2 separate regions of the Homo sapiens genome follow, and region 1 is linked to region 2. Evidence: promoter capture Hi-C in 16 types of primary human blood cells and fetal thymus (Javierre and others, 2016). All regions are on one chromosome and are shown on one strand. Each heading gives the region's core, a stretch centred on a gene start or on the middle of the fragment in contact. The rest is flanking DNA. Distances are from core to core; before and after follow the strand shown. Region 1 overlaps PRKCD (protein kinase C delta). Region 2 holds the start of RFT1 (RFT1 glycolipid translocator homolog).

Region 1 (5,646 bases), core at 2,680-5,179, 39 kb after region 2:
GTTGGACACTGCAGGGGGATGGAATGGGGTCTCCAGCTCCAGGTACAGCTGAGCTGTCTTCCACACCCCAGGCCCCTCCATTTTCCCCAGCTTCTCTGGAGCCCGAGCAGGGCTCAGTCCCTCTCTTCAGCTTCCAGATTCAAGGGGAGCTAGGCAGAGTCTGGAACAATGCTGGGAAGGCTGCAGTCTCTTTGAATCCCCTCAGAAAGCTAGAAATTCCTTGTTTTGGGGCGAGCCTTGCCTCCTTCAGCCCTATTACCATGAAAACATTGCTGTGGGTGACTCCATACTCATTCCAGGCTGGTGACTGGGTGACCGGGCCCCAGTGAACAGGGTACTGGTGGTGGGTATGGGTGCTAATGAAGCTGGAGCCTCGGAGTAACAGTGGGGGGATAGCAAAGACCGTCTTTCCTCCAGGAGTGCTCCCTGAGCAGACCCTCACAGCCAACCCTACTGGCTGTTACGCACCTATAGGTCTGTGAGTAGAGCCATAAAGGCTGGGCTTCCTGGGCCTGACTCTGGGTTGGGGGCAGAAGGGAGGTCAGGGCCTTCACTCTGGGGTAGGAGTTGGGACAGAACAGGAGCAGTCTTCACTGGGCCTTCTGTGTATTGGACCTGTCCCTAAACCTGGTGTGGAGGAAGTAAAGCGCCTTTGGCTGTCTAGGGGCCTCTGCCACCTAAGTTCTGAAGAGCCAGCCCTTTCCGTCACTCAGCCTTGTTTTGTAAGGAGTTTGATTAGTCTTGGAGACAGCCCACTGTAAACCCTCAGACATCACCCTCCAGCTGCACAGACATATGCGTGCTCACACAGGGATATGGCAAGCTAGGCTGCAGTGGGCATGCACACCCACAGACTCATGAGTTCCTGTACGTGCACCACACATGTGGGCATGCAGGTACACAGGTGCTCACATGCAGCCACCCATGGCACACTCACACACACACAGATGCTCTCCCAGTTACCGTTGGCATCCATGCACTCAAATGCCTGCCCACACATACCGCACTGTGCCCATTCTGGGGTCAGGAAGGGGTCCCTGGTCAGAGTTACAGCCCAGTCAGGTCGCCTGCATCTGGCACCTGAGGGGCAAGTTCCAGGTGTGGCTGTGATCTCAGTAAGGGGGGCTGGGCCACCCTGGTAGGTGGGCTCTGCCCATGCATTCAGCAGCCACCCTGCCCACCTGGCCCCAGGCTCCAGGCCGACCAGGGATTGGCATGGGAGATGGGAGGCATGAATGCGGGGGAGAGGCTGTGTCAGCTGTGCCAGCACTGTGTGCCTGCTGCTACAGCAGAGGAAGTAGGCTGTCTGGCCATGGGGCCAAGGTGCTCACAGTGGGTGGGGGTCCTATCAACTCCTGTGTCCCCCACGGTGTCCATGCCTAGAGGGAGTGGAGTTGCTGGGCTCTAGGGACTGAGAGGTTGGCAGGGGCTGTCTGTTCACTTCCCAAAGCCTGGGCCTAGGAGAGAGGCCCATCTGTTCAAGGCGTTTCCGGAGGCTTACTTCCTCTGAGCTGCCCAGGAAGTGGTTTTGGAGTGGGACTGACCAGCCCTCTGTCAGTGGCTCTACGCCTTGCTCCGCCCCTGCCTTGCCTGCCCAGGGGAGCAGCGTCTGGCCACCGGGTTAGGCTGACTGACCAGGCTTTTCACTGCCAGGGCTGCCCAGGCCTTTTTGGGGGGCTCTAGGAGAAGGGCAGGGGGCAGGTCACGAAGTCCCCTGCAGTCCCCACAACCGTGGCTCCTTTCTTGCTCTGAGCCTGTAAGCCGAGGCTCAAGAGCATCAACTCTGGTAGGCATGGCCCCCTTGAGAGAGGTGATGGCTGGGCTGCATCTTAGTGACTAGGCAGCTCCCAGCAGCTCTATGAATGAACCTGGGCAAGTGGCTCTGCCGCTCAGTGCCTCAGTCTCCCCCTGACAGATGAGATAATGATAGCATCCATCTTGATGAGGTTGTGCGGAAATGACAGATAACATATGCAAAGTAGCTGGCATCGTGCTTAGTGCATTGTCAGAGTTGAATGAGTAGAAACTGTAGTTATGTAAAGCATTTAGAGCCCAGTTCATGGGAACTATTCAAAAAATAGCAAGTGGGACTGATGAGGGGGTATTATTATCTGATGGGCTGGGCACTGGCCCAGTGTTACATGGCCAGGTGGCTGTGGAGCCTGGCTGAGGAGCCAGGTCTCTGACTCCCTCATCCCCCTCAATTCTACCTCCAGTGGCAGTGCCCTACTTGTTCAGTAGGTTCCATGCCCTCCGAGGAGAGGAGCTCCTGTTGGAGCAGCTCCACCCACTCAGCAGTCCAGCCCCTGCCTGCTCTTCTCCCCCTCACTCCCTTTCAAAGGGAGAAAATAGATCTCGTGACAAATGGATGCAGGGAGGGGAAAGGCAGTCTGCAGCTGCCTGCTGCCCCCTCAGGGCTCCCCTTGGCCCTCTCCAGCTCTGGCCTCCTGCAGGACATTAGGCTGGGAGAATTGGCTGGGAACGAGGGGGTGGACGTAAGCCCTCCTGCCAGCCTGCTTACCCTTCAGACCCCTGGAGTCAGCCTGTGGGCTGGGGCAGGGAGTGGGCATCTGGGACTGATGGAAGCTAGAAGAGTAGGGGGAGCTAGAAAACCCCCTACACCCATGGCAGCTGGGGGCAGGGCCCAGCCTGTCCCAGGGACACGAAGAAGGTCAGCACAGTTAGGGTTGGGCTAAGCATTGGCCTTCACTGTGTGGGGCCCAGAGGCTGGGGATGAGGAGTGTTGAGGAGTGGTAAGGACAGTGATGCAAACAGCAGGGGCCTGAGGGCTGGAGAGCGAAAGGTGGATGGGCCTGGGCGGGAAGTGTGGTTGAGGGTATCCTGAAGGCTTAGGAGCAGGACTTCTGCAGGCATCAGACAGACCCTGGTTGAATCCTTGCTCAATATTTACTGGCTGTGCACACTTGAGCCAGGGACTGGACCGTTCCCCACTTGCCTCGTCTGTGAAATGGGCAGATCACGGGGTGTGGTGTCCTGTGAGACATGAACGATGGGAAGGAGCCACTGTGTGGGGTGGGGTGGAGCAGGAAGACGGAACAGCAAGCCCAGAGGCTCCTAAGCGGGAAGGAACTGGCTGCTTCGGGAACTGAAAGGGGTCAGCGTGGCTGGGGCACAGGAATGAGGGAAAGGCAGCGCCTGCCCGAGAGGTCAGGGAGGTAACGGTGATGGGGAGGGGGGTGGCGGGGGGCAGGCTGCATGGAGCAGGCTGAGGGGAGGAGTCTGGGCTTGTCAGAGGGGCAATGGGAGGCACTGGGGGCTTGGGCAGGGGGTGACAAAATCTGTCTGAAAAGCCCCGTCTGGTGGCTGGAACAGGGGGACTGTCGGGCCGGGGTAGAGGATGGAGAGCAGTCAGAAGACAGGTGCAGAGCCTGGGGATGGTGGTGGTGGGAGAAGAGGATTTGAGACTTGAGGACAGGCTGCAGCGGCAGACGGGATGGCCTTATTGTGTGGGGAGCAGGGGGAGCTGTCTGGCCTGAGCCACTGCCTGAGCTCGTGCACTCCTAGTGGATGAGGAGCGCTGGGAGGGGAACGGCGGGGGACTGGTGTGGGCAGGCTTGAGCTCTTCTGGAGTCATTCATGTGGTGAAGCCAGGGAGGCAGGTGGGGCCACAAGCCTGAAGTTCAGGAGGGTCTGGGCCCAAAGTAGAGACGGGAGCCTAAAGCCAGGATTGGGGAGGAGAGGGCTCAACAGGCCTTCTAAGGGGTGGGGGAGCATTTGAGAGGCCCACGAACAGGACTGGGATGGCTGTCCCTCAAAGGTCTCTGCCAAGGCACCCAGGAGGGCAGGCTTGTGGTGGCTGAGCCGCTGTTTTCACAACAGCTCCGGAAGCTTTGGATCATGTCTATGGCCGTGTTGGGTAAACAGGCAGAGCAGAGCAGGCAGTCGCCAAGGCCTGAGGCTAGATCAGATGTCTGCGTGGTGTAGGTTGTGGGCTGGGGTTGTTGGGGTGGGAGGAGGATCCCAGGGTCCTCCAGTGTCAGGGCTGGAGAAAGCTTAGAGGTCTCCATTGTTGAGACAGGGAGGCTGGAGCCCCGGGAGGGGCAGTAGCTGGCCAGCCTCTGCCAGTGGACTCATGCTGCCTGCTTCAGCCCAGTTCTGCCCAGAGCCTCAGGCCAGAACAGGGCACCCTGCGGCTGGGGGGCTTAACAGAGCCTCTTTTCCCACTTTCCAAGGAAGTCTGGAAGACACCAGAGCACTTGGGCCAAGATCGCGGAGCACCCAGGCAGCAGATCTGAGCTAGGCCTGTCTAGGTCCAAGCTCGCCGGTTCCTCTGTCCGCTGCCTGCTGTGGGATGGCGCACCATGCGGGATGGTCCTGCCTCTCTCCCAGCTTTCTCAATATCCCCAAAGTGGGGAAGCATCATGTGGATCCTGCCCAGATCCTGGGGATGACTGGCAAAAGGGTTAGGTGGCCATCTTGCCTTCTCCCAAACACAAAACGATTGTTTCCAATGGTAAACCATCTGGAAAATCGTGGGAACTCTGTGGGAGAAAGAAGGGCTAAGGAGTAGGGCTCTTGTACTGGGGGCTGATGGAGGAGCTGTTCCCATCTCCAAACACATACCCTCACCCCATTGGAGGCCAGATGGGCAGTTCTAGGACTAGAGCTGGAAGTTCTCTCCCCACTTCCCCCTGGGTCTGCCCCATTGGCTTTGTGGCTTTGGTTGAATTGCTCAACCTCTCTTTCGGTTTCTGCACAGTGAGCCTGGAGCTCAAGGAACTTGCTCCTGGGGTGCCCGGCTTGCTGCCCTACCAACATAGGTTCAAGCCCTCCCCTCCCCCTGCGCGCCAGGCCTGTGACTGCCACCTGTGACCTTCAACCTCCACCATAGCCTCAGGGCCCTGCAGGCAGGTGGGCGGGCGGGCGGAGGCCTGCCCAGTGATGTGCCTGACCAGCCCACTCCTTCCCTTACACACTTTAGACTTTGCTCTGGATCAAGAGGGACTTTCTTCGTCTCCCTGGGTGGAAAGGCCCAGCCTAGCCTGACACCAGCTGCCCTTCTGCCCCTCCTCCATTCCCCAGCCATTGTGCCTGGGGGCTGTGGTGGAAAAAGCTGCATTTGGACTTCATGGTGCCAGACTCTAGTCAGGGATGTGGGGTCCTTCCAGGACTGTATGTTTGTTTCTGTGTCTGCCTGGAGCATCTCTGTGCCAGTGTGTACATCACAGCTTGTGGCACTCCACGTGCGTGTGGAGCCTATGTGGTCGGGTGTGGTCTGTGTGGGCCCGGGTATCTGTTGAGATGTGAGAGCCGGTGAGTGCATGTGTGTTTCTGTGTGTGTGTGTGTGTGTGTGTACGTGTGCCCCTGTGTCATCACAGCAGTGTGTGTACGTACCTGTGGCTCCAACTGTGTGCGTGTGTGTCTAATGTCGAGTGGGGCTCCCTATGTGCTGTTTGGGTTGGCGAGTGTGCCTGTGTGCACACGTGTGGTTATTCGTGGAGAGGCCCGGCTGCATCCCCCACCCTGGCTCCTCACAGAGGCCCCTTGTCCTCACAGGATCTGGCTCTCTGGCTCCTGCCATGAAGGGGCCTTTGTTCCTCTCTCAGGGGTACCTGGGGCACCGCCCTCTGACTGAGCCCAGGACTCCTCATATCCTAGGGCTGGCTGGTGACTCGAGGCCTGTG
Region 2 (5,875 bases), core at 235-2,734:
TGACCTTACAGGTAAGCCACCTGACTCGTAGTCCAGTGTGTTTTCCGTTATAACTTGTTTTCGTTTTATGAAGCCTATCTGAGTAGTAAGATATTATCAAAGGCTGAAAAAAAACCAACATTGTGGATAAAACAATAAACTCAGTTATTTATGTAGTGAAACAGAAAAAAAAAATCCCTAGGTAAACTTAGAATGGCTAACATTTACTAAGCACATATCACGTGCAAGGCACTCTTCAACATGCTTTCCATAGGTTATCTCATTTCATTCCTACATTGACTATTTTAAAAATACTTATTACCCTAATAAAAATAGCTACATTTATTAAGTACTTGTAGTGTGCCAGGCACTTAAGAGGCATGATTTCATCTAATCTTCCTAATGACCCTGTGAGGTTGCACTATGATTCTCATTTAAGATGAAGAAACTGATACAGAAGTCATCGGATTTATCCCGAAGGCAGGCATCTAGCAAGTGACAAGGCCCAAACTCAAGCCCCATTCTGCTTGGTTCTTTCTTCTGCCCTCCATGTGCCTCTCTAAGATAAGGGGTAGGGTAGATTCGGGACTTGTGTGAAGTAGGGTTGATTGGCTCAAGAGTGAGACAGAGAGATACTGAGCCACTTGACTTAAGAGGTTCAGCTCCTGGGGTTGAAAGAATCTTCAGATACCATTTGGACTAACTGGCCTGTATCATACCTGACAGATGACAAAAATTAGGGCCAAGAAGGGAAGTGACTTGTCCAAGATCACATAAACAGAAGATGCAGCCAACATGTATTAAATGCATACTAAGAGCCGGGTACTGTGTTAAGTACGTTTATTTGAATGATCCCAATCAATCCCTGCTTATGAGCTAAGTACGACATATTATTACCCCCATTTTACTAGTGAGGAACTCAGGCTCTGCAGGTGAAGTCACTTGTCCTGGGTCACGGAGCAATCCAAGCCTAACTCCAGATTTCTCTTCTTAGCTATGCCATATGGACTCTCGGAACTCAGTGGGACTCAAAGTTTGAGGAAGGTGTTTGATGAAGGAAATGAACCCCTTGCCTGAAAAATATCAGATTCTCGAGCACGAAATACCAGTCCCTCACCCCCGCCACCTGATCTAATTCACTCCTACTGCCATATGGGAAATAGAATGCTCAGAAGGAAAGCGGCTTGTCTGCAGTCACCCGGCCTAGACTCTAAAGGCAGGCTCCTATCTCCGGGCCAGGGTCCCCCCTCATCAATGCCACCGTCTCCGGTCGACCCCCCCACCCCCTCCATTGCGGGGTCCACCTCGGGACTGGGTCGGCCCTGGGGCAGGCTCTCAAGGGCCCAAGGGCTGCCATCCCGCGAATCCCGGCTGCAGTACAAGCTGGAACCTGAAGGGCAGAGAGTACCTGCAGGAGGAGACCGGAGGAGGCCAGCCGGGCCGCGTGGCCCAGCACCTCCTGGCTGCCCATAGCCTCCGCGCCAGGCTCAGACACCAGGAAATGCCGCCGCCACTCCGTTTAGTCGCGATAAGATGGCGTCACGGCGCGCCTCGCTGTCTGATTGATGGCCTTGAGAGAGGGGGGCGGGGCACGAGAAGTTCTGGTCCTTTAAGTGGGCCTGTCTCGGGCCGTCTGTTATGGCGCCTGGCTCTTTCTATTTCGGTAGGTTTTGCGCTGTCTGTCGCTTGTGCGCTGTCTGTCCCTCTCTTCCCCGTATAAACGAAATAGTGTGGCGAGTACTAAGAGATACCGTTAAAGAATCCAAAGTTCCTTCTCTGAGGCTTTCAGCCACCAACCAAGAAGCACTAACTTTCCTGGCCTCATCTGCCAAAAGGGGAACAAACTTCTCACTGGCCCGTTAAGAAGATTCTCACCATTGACCTTTGCTTACAGAATCACAGCCACAGACCCTCTGAATTAGGCTGGACAGGAATTGTCCTCATTTAACAGAGAAAGAACTGAGGACCAGAAGTTAGATATAGCACTGTTATGTGTATGGTTTTGTGAAATCCTTCCGAAAGCTCTGAGAATTGGCCCCTGTGGTTAGAGATGAGTAAAGCCTTGGAGATGGGAAGTGACTTGTTCGAATCTACACAACTTGTTTCCTGACTAAGTGGATACCAGGCTCCTGATCCTAAACTTATCACTCTTGCCTGTATGCTAGAAATTGTGAGGGCAGAGTGGAAGAAGGACTGGAAGTGCTTTGTAAAAAAATGTAAAGCGCCCAACATACACAATCAGCTGCTGTTCTGTCAGTGTTCTTATTATCTACCAAGCAGGCTGTAGGAAGCCCAGTCTTTCCCCAATCTCTTTCAGTCCTCACATGATTTGGCCCCAACCTATCTTCTACTACCTTTCACACGATCATTGCCCTTCCCAACACTATCTAGGCCATAGCCATTCCGAGTCCTTACTGGTCCTCAAACAGGCGGTGACTCACTGGCCTTTGCTCCTCCACCCTCTTTGTCCAAAGTGTCTTCCCTGACAGCACCCCTTGCCCTCCTAGACCACACTGTCCTGACTTTCCTGGCCAACCACAGCTGGTACCTGCTGTGGACTAAATGTTTGTGTACCCTCAAAATTCATATGTTGAAGCCTAATCCCCAGTGTGATAGTATTAGGAGGTAAGGCCTTTGGGAAGTAATTAGGTCCTGAAAGTGGAGCCGTCATAATGGGATTCATGTCCTTATAAAAAGAGATGTCAGAAAAATGATCTCTGTGTTTACTATTTGAGGATACAGCAAGAATGTAGCTGTCTGCAACCACGAAGAAGGCTTTGTAAAATGTAAGGCGCCCAACATACACTTAACAGGAACCAAACTGGCTAGCACCTTGATCTTGGGCTTCCAGCCTCCAGAGCTGTGAGAGAAATTTCTGTTTTTGACTTACCCAGTCTATGGTATTTTGTTACAGCAGCCCAAGCAAATCAAGACAGTACCCCTAAAATACTCTGTACCCCTTTATAGTTCCTAATGCAATCTGCATTATAGCAGAAAGACTAGAATATGTGTCTCTATATAATCAGCCCATGAGCTCCAAGAGGGCAGAAGTGCAGCCTGCCTGGTTTTGCTTCCTGAAGTAGCGGTACAGAACATTCTTAGGGCTCCTATAAATGTCTCCTGACACATGACTGCTGCTACTGCTGCTGGAAACAGACTGTGGAACTCAAAGCCTATCACTCCCATCTTCCCAGGTGAAATGAGCTCTGTCTTAGTGTGGAGGCCCAGAATGTGAGCTTTTCTTTTTCTTTTCTTTTCTTTTCTTTTCTTTTCTTTTTTTTTTTTGAGACAGGGTCTCGCTCTGTCTCCCAGGCTAGGGTGCAGTGGTACAGTCTTGGTTCACTGCCGCTTCCACCTCCTGGCCTCAGGTAATCCTCCCACCTCAGCCTTCCGATTAGCTGGGACTACAGGCGTGCAGCACCAGACCTGGCTGATTTTTTCTGTGATTTTTGTAGAGATGGGTTTTTCCCACGTTGCTCAGGCTGGTCTCCAACTCCTGGACTCAAGTGATCCGCCCACCTCAGCTTCTCAAAGTGCCGAGATTACAGGCATGAGCCACCGCACTGCACCCTGCCCAAGAATGTGAGCTTTTGTCTGTCAGAGAGAACTGACCTTGAATCCTCATTCTGCCACTCACTGACTGGGTGACCTCAGTATGCTCAGCTACTAAATAGGGATATTATCTGTCCTGTAAAAATAGTCATAAGGATTGTTTCAGGCAAGTCTGGCCCTCAGAGAGCTTAAATTCTAGTGAAAGGGAAACTGAAAAAAACTCTAACAAACAAATAAAATTTCACATAGGGCTAAGTGCTACGAAAGAATGAAACCAGGTAAGATCCTAGAGGCTTTGGAAGAGAGAGAGGGGTGCTGTTTTAGGATGAGTGAGTTGGGCACCCACCTGGGGAGGAGTGTACTTGGAGAATAGAGAAAGTGCTGGAGGGTCCAGGTATTTGGCATAATGGCTGAGATGCTAAAGACCTTGACCTGGGCAGCCTTCCCACCCCCCTGGACTGTGGGCCAGCAGGTGAGACAGCCTCCCACTTCCTTTATTCCCAGCCAAGCAGTCTCCTCCTCTACAGCTCATCCCCAGAGTAGAACCAGCCAAGAGTTCATCATGTGCACACACTCCTAAGCCTGGCATCCATGTAAGCTGCTTTGGGAGGGAAGAAGTGATCATTTTGCTAGGAGCAAAGAAGTCAAAGGGGAAATGCTCCAAGCTAAGTCTAAAGGGCAAAGCATTCTAGGACCCCAAGGTATGGACTCTGTGGGGCTCCTGGGTGAGGAATCCAGGGACTTTTTCTCTTATTCTGGAAGTTAACACTTGGCAAGGAGGGACTGAGCAGAGCCCAGAGCCGTGCTGGGTTCTGGGGTGGGTGGGGAAAAAGGAACTGTGAGGAGAATCCACAAACATTGACCACTGACTCCATGTCAGGCACCTGTCTGAGCACTCTACATGCGTGTACTCCATCCTGTCAATAACCTATGAGAGAGGGACTGCAGATCAGGAAACTGAAGCACAGGGATGTGACGTAACTCATCCAAGGTCATTCAGCAAAGGAATGGTCAAGGAGGTATTTGAACTCGGGTCCCTTCTGATTCCAAATGCGTGAACAGTAATGTTCCTCCCTTCAAAAAAAGCTTCTGATTGTAAAGGAGACCTAAGAGTCCCTATATGTAAGCCACAGAGAACATATGTGGCATTGAGAGAGTGGAGTCTGGGAGGGCTGCAGCAGTCGAGCTGTGGTAGGCTTGGAGGCATTCCCTCTCCCCAGTGAGGATCTCTGAAGGTCTTGACCCTGTTGGAGATACTGGCCTGCACGCTCCACTGGGAGTTGCATACTCCATGGTCTTGCCCATGGAGGACTCAGCTCAGGGCTGGCAAGTAATGGCCCACTGGACGTTGCATTTTGTATGGCCTACAAGCTAAGAATAGTTTTTACATTTGTAAATGGTTGGAAAAAAATCAAAAGAATATTTCATGACACATGAAAATGGTATAAAATTCAAATTTCAGTGTCCACCAGGTACAGTGGCTCACGGCTGTTATCCCAGCACTTTGGGAGGCCAAGGTGAGTGGATTGCTTGAGGTCAGGAGCTCAAGACCAGCTTGGGCAACATGGTGAAACTCCATCTCTACAAAAAAATACAAAAATTAGCCAGGCATGGTGGTGCGTGCCTGTAGACCCAACTACTGAGGAGGCTGAGGTGGGAGGATCATTTGAGTTTGGAGAGATCAAGGCTGCAGTGAGCTATGATCATGCCACTGCACTCCAGCCTGGGCAACAGGGTGAGACTCTTGTCTCAAAAAAAAAAAAAAAATTCAGTGTCCACAAATAATGTTTCATTGGAACATAGCACACGTACCCGTTTGTTTACATATTATCAATAGCTACTTTCTTGCTACAACAGCAGAATAGGTTGGTCCACAAAGCTGAAAATATTTGCTAGATGGCCCTTTACAGAAAAACTTTGCCAATTCCTGGTGATCACCATTGAGCACCTGGGATATAGTAAACATTTCAATATTGAATGAATGAATGCATGTGTAAGTGCATTGGAATAAATGAATGATGAAGGACTAGGAAAGGAAGAAAGACAAGTACATAGGGCTCTTGTACTCTTGGTCCTCTTGGAGAGGAAGTGGCCCCTTGAGAATACCAGGCTGTAACTGGTGGTCATTGAAGGAGCCGTTTTCCCCAGCCTTCCTCCCCGCCTCCTGCGTCTGTGCCAGGTAGCCTCCCTGCCAGGGAAATCTGACCCAAGCCACCTATTTTATTACAAAGCTGGAGGGAAGTGCCAGAGCTGGTGCCAAGCCAATTAGGCTCCTAGGGCAGAGGAGCAGGGAGGGAGGCTGCTAGTGGGCCAGGAGACAGGGTGGAACCTCTGGCCAGCTGGG

What was found. The method cuts DNA at HindIII sites, captures the fragments that hold promoters and counts their contacts. A CHiCAGO score of 5 or more calls a contact.
Region 1: a fragment that was not itself captured here is called in contact with the fragment with the promoter of RFT1 in region 2 in 12 of 17 cell types (M1 macrophages, M0 macrophages, megakaryocytes and 9 more); the score reaches 14.2 in M1 macrophages.

The regions. Positions count from the first base shown.
Region 1 is chr3:53,165,645-53,171,290 of GRCh38, forward strand. All of the region lies in intron 2 of PRKCD (protein kinase C delta), which reads left to right. Among named protein-coding and RNA genes, the nearest start is that of PRKCD, 7.3 kb to the left of the region's middle. RefSeq lists enhancers at 1,765-1,874, 1,885-1,954, 2,070-2,750, 2,751-3,431 and a silencer at 4,628-4,677. The HindIII fragment of the contact is 164 bases long and covers 3,848-4,011 here.
Region 2 is chr3:53,128,951-53,134,825 of GRCh38, forward strand. RFT1 (RFT1 glycolipid translocator homolog) reads right to left here and starts at 1,485. Exons shown (of 13, transcript NM_052859.4): 1 at 1,388-1,485. The coding sequence starts at 1,450. RefSeq lists enhancers at 1,341-1,530, 1,541-1,590, 1,631-1,830, 1,841-1,890. The HindIII fragment of the contact is 8,425 bases long and covers 1-4,615 here.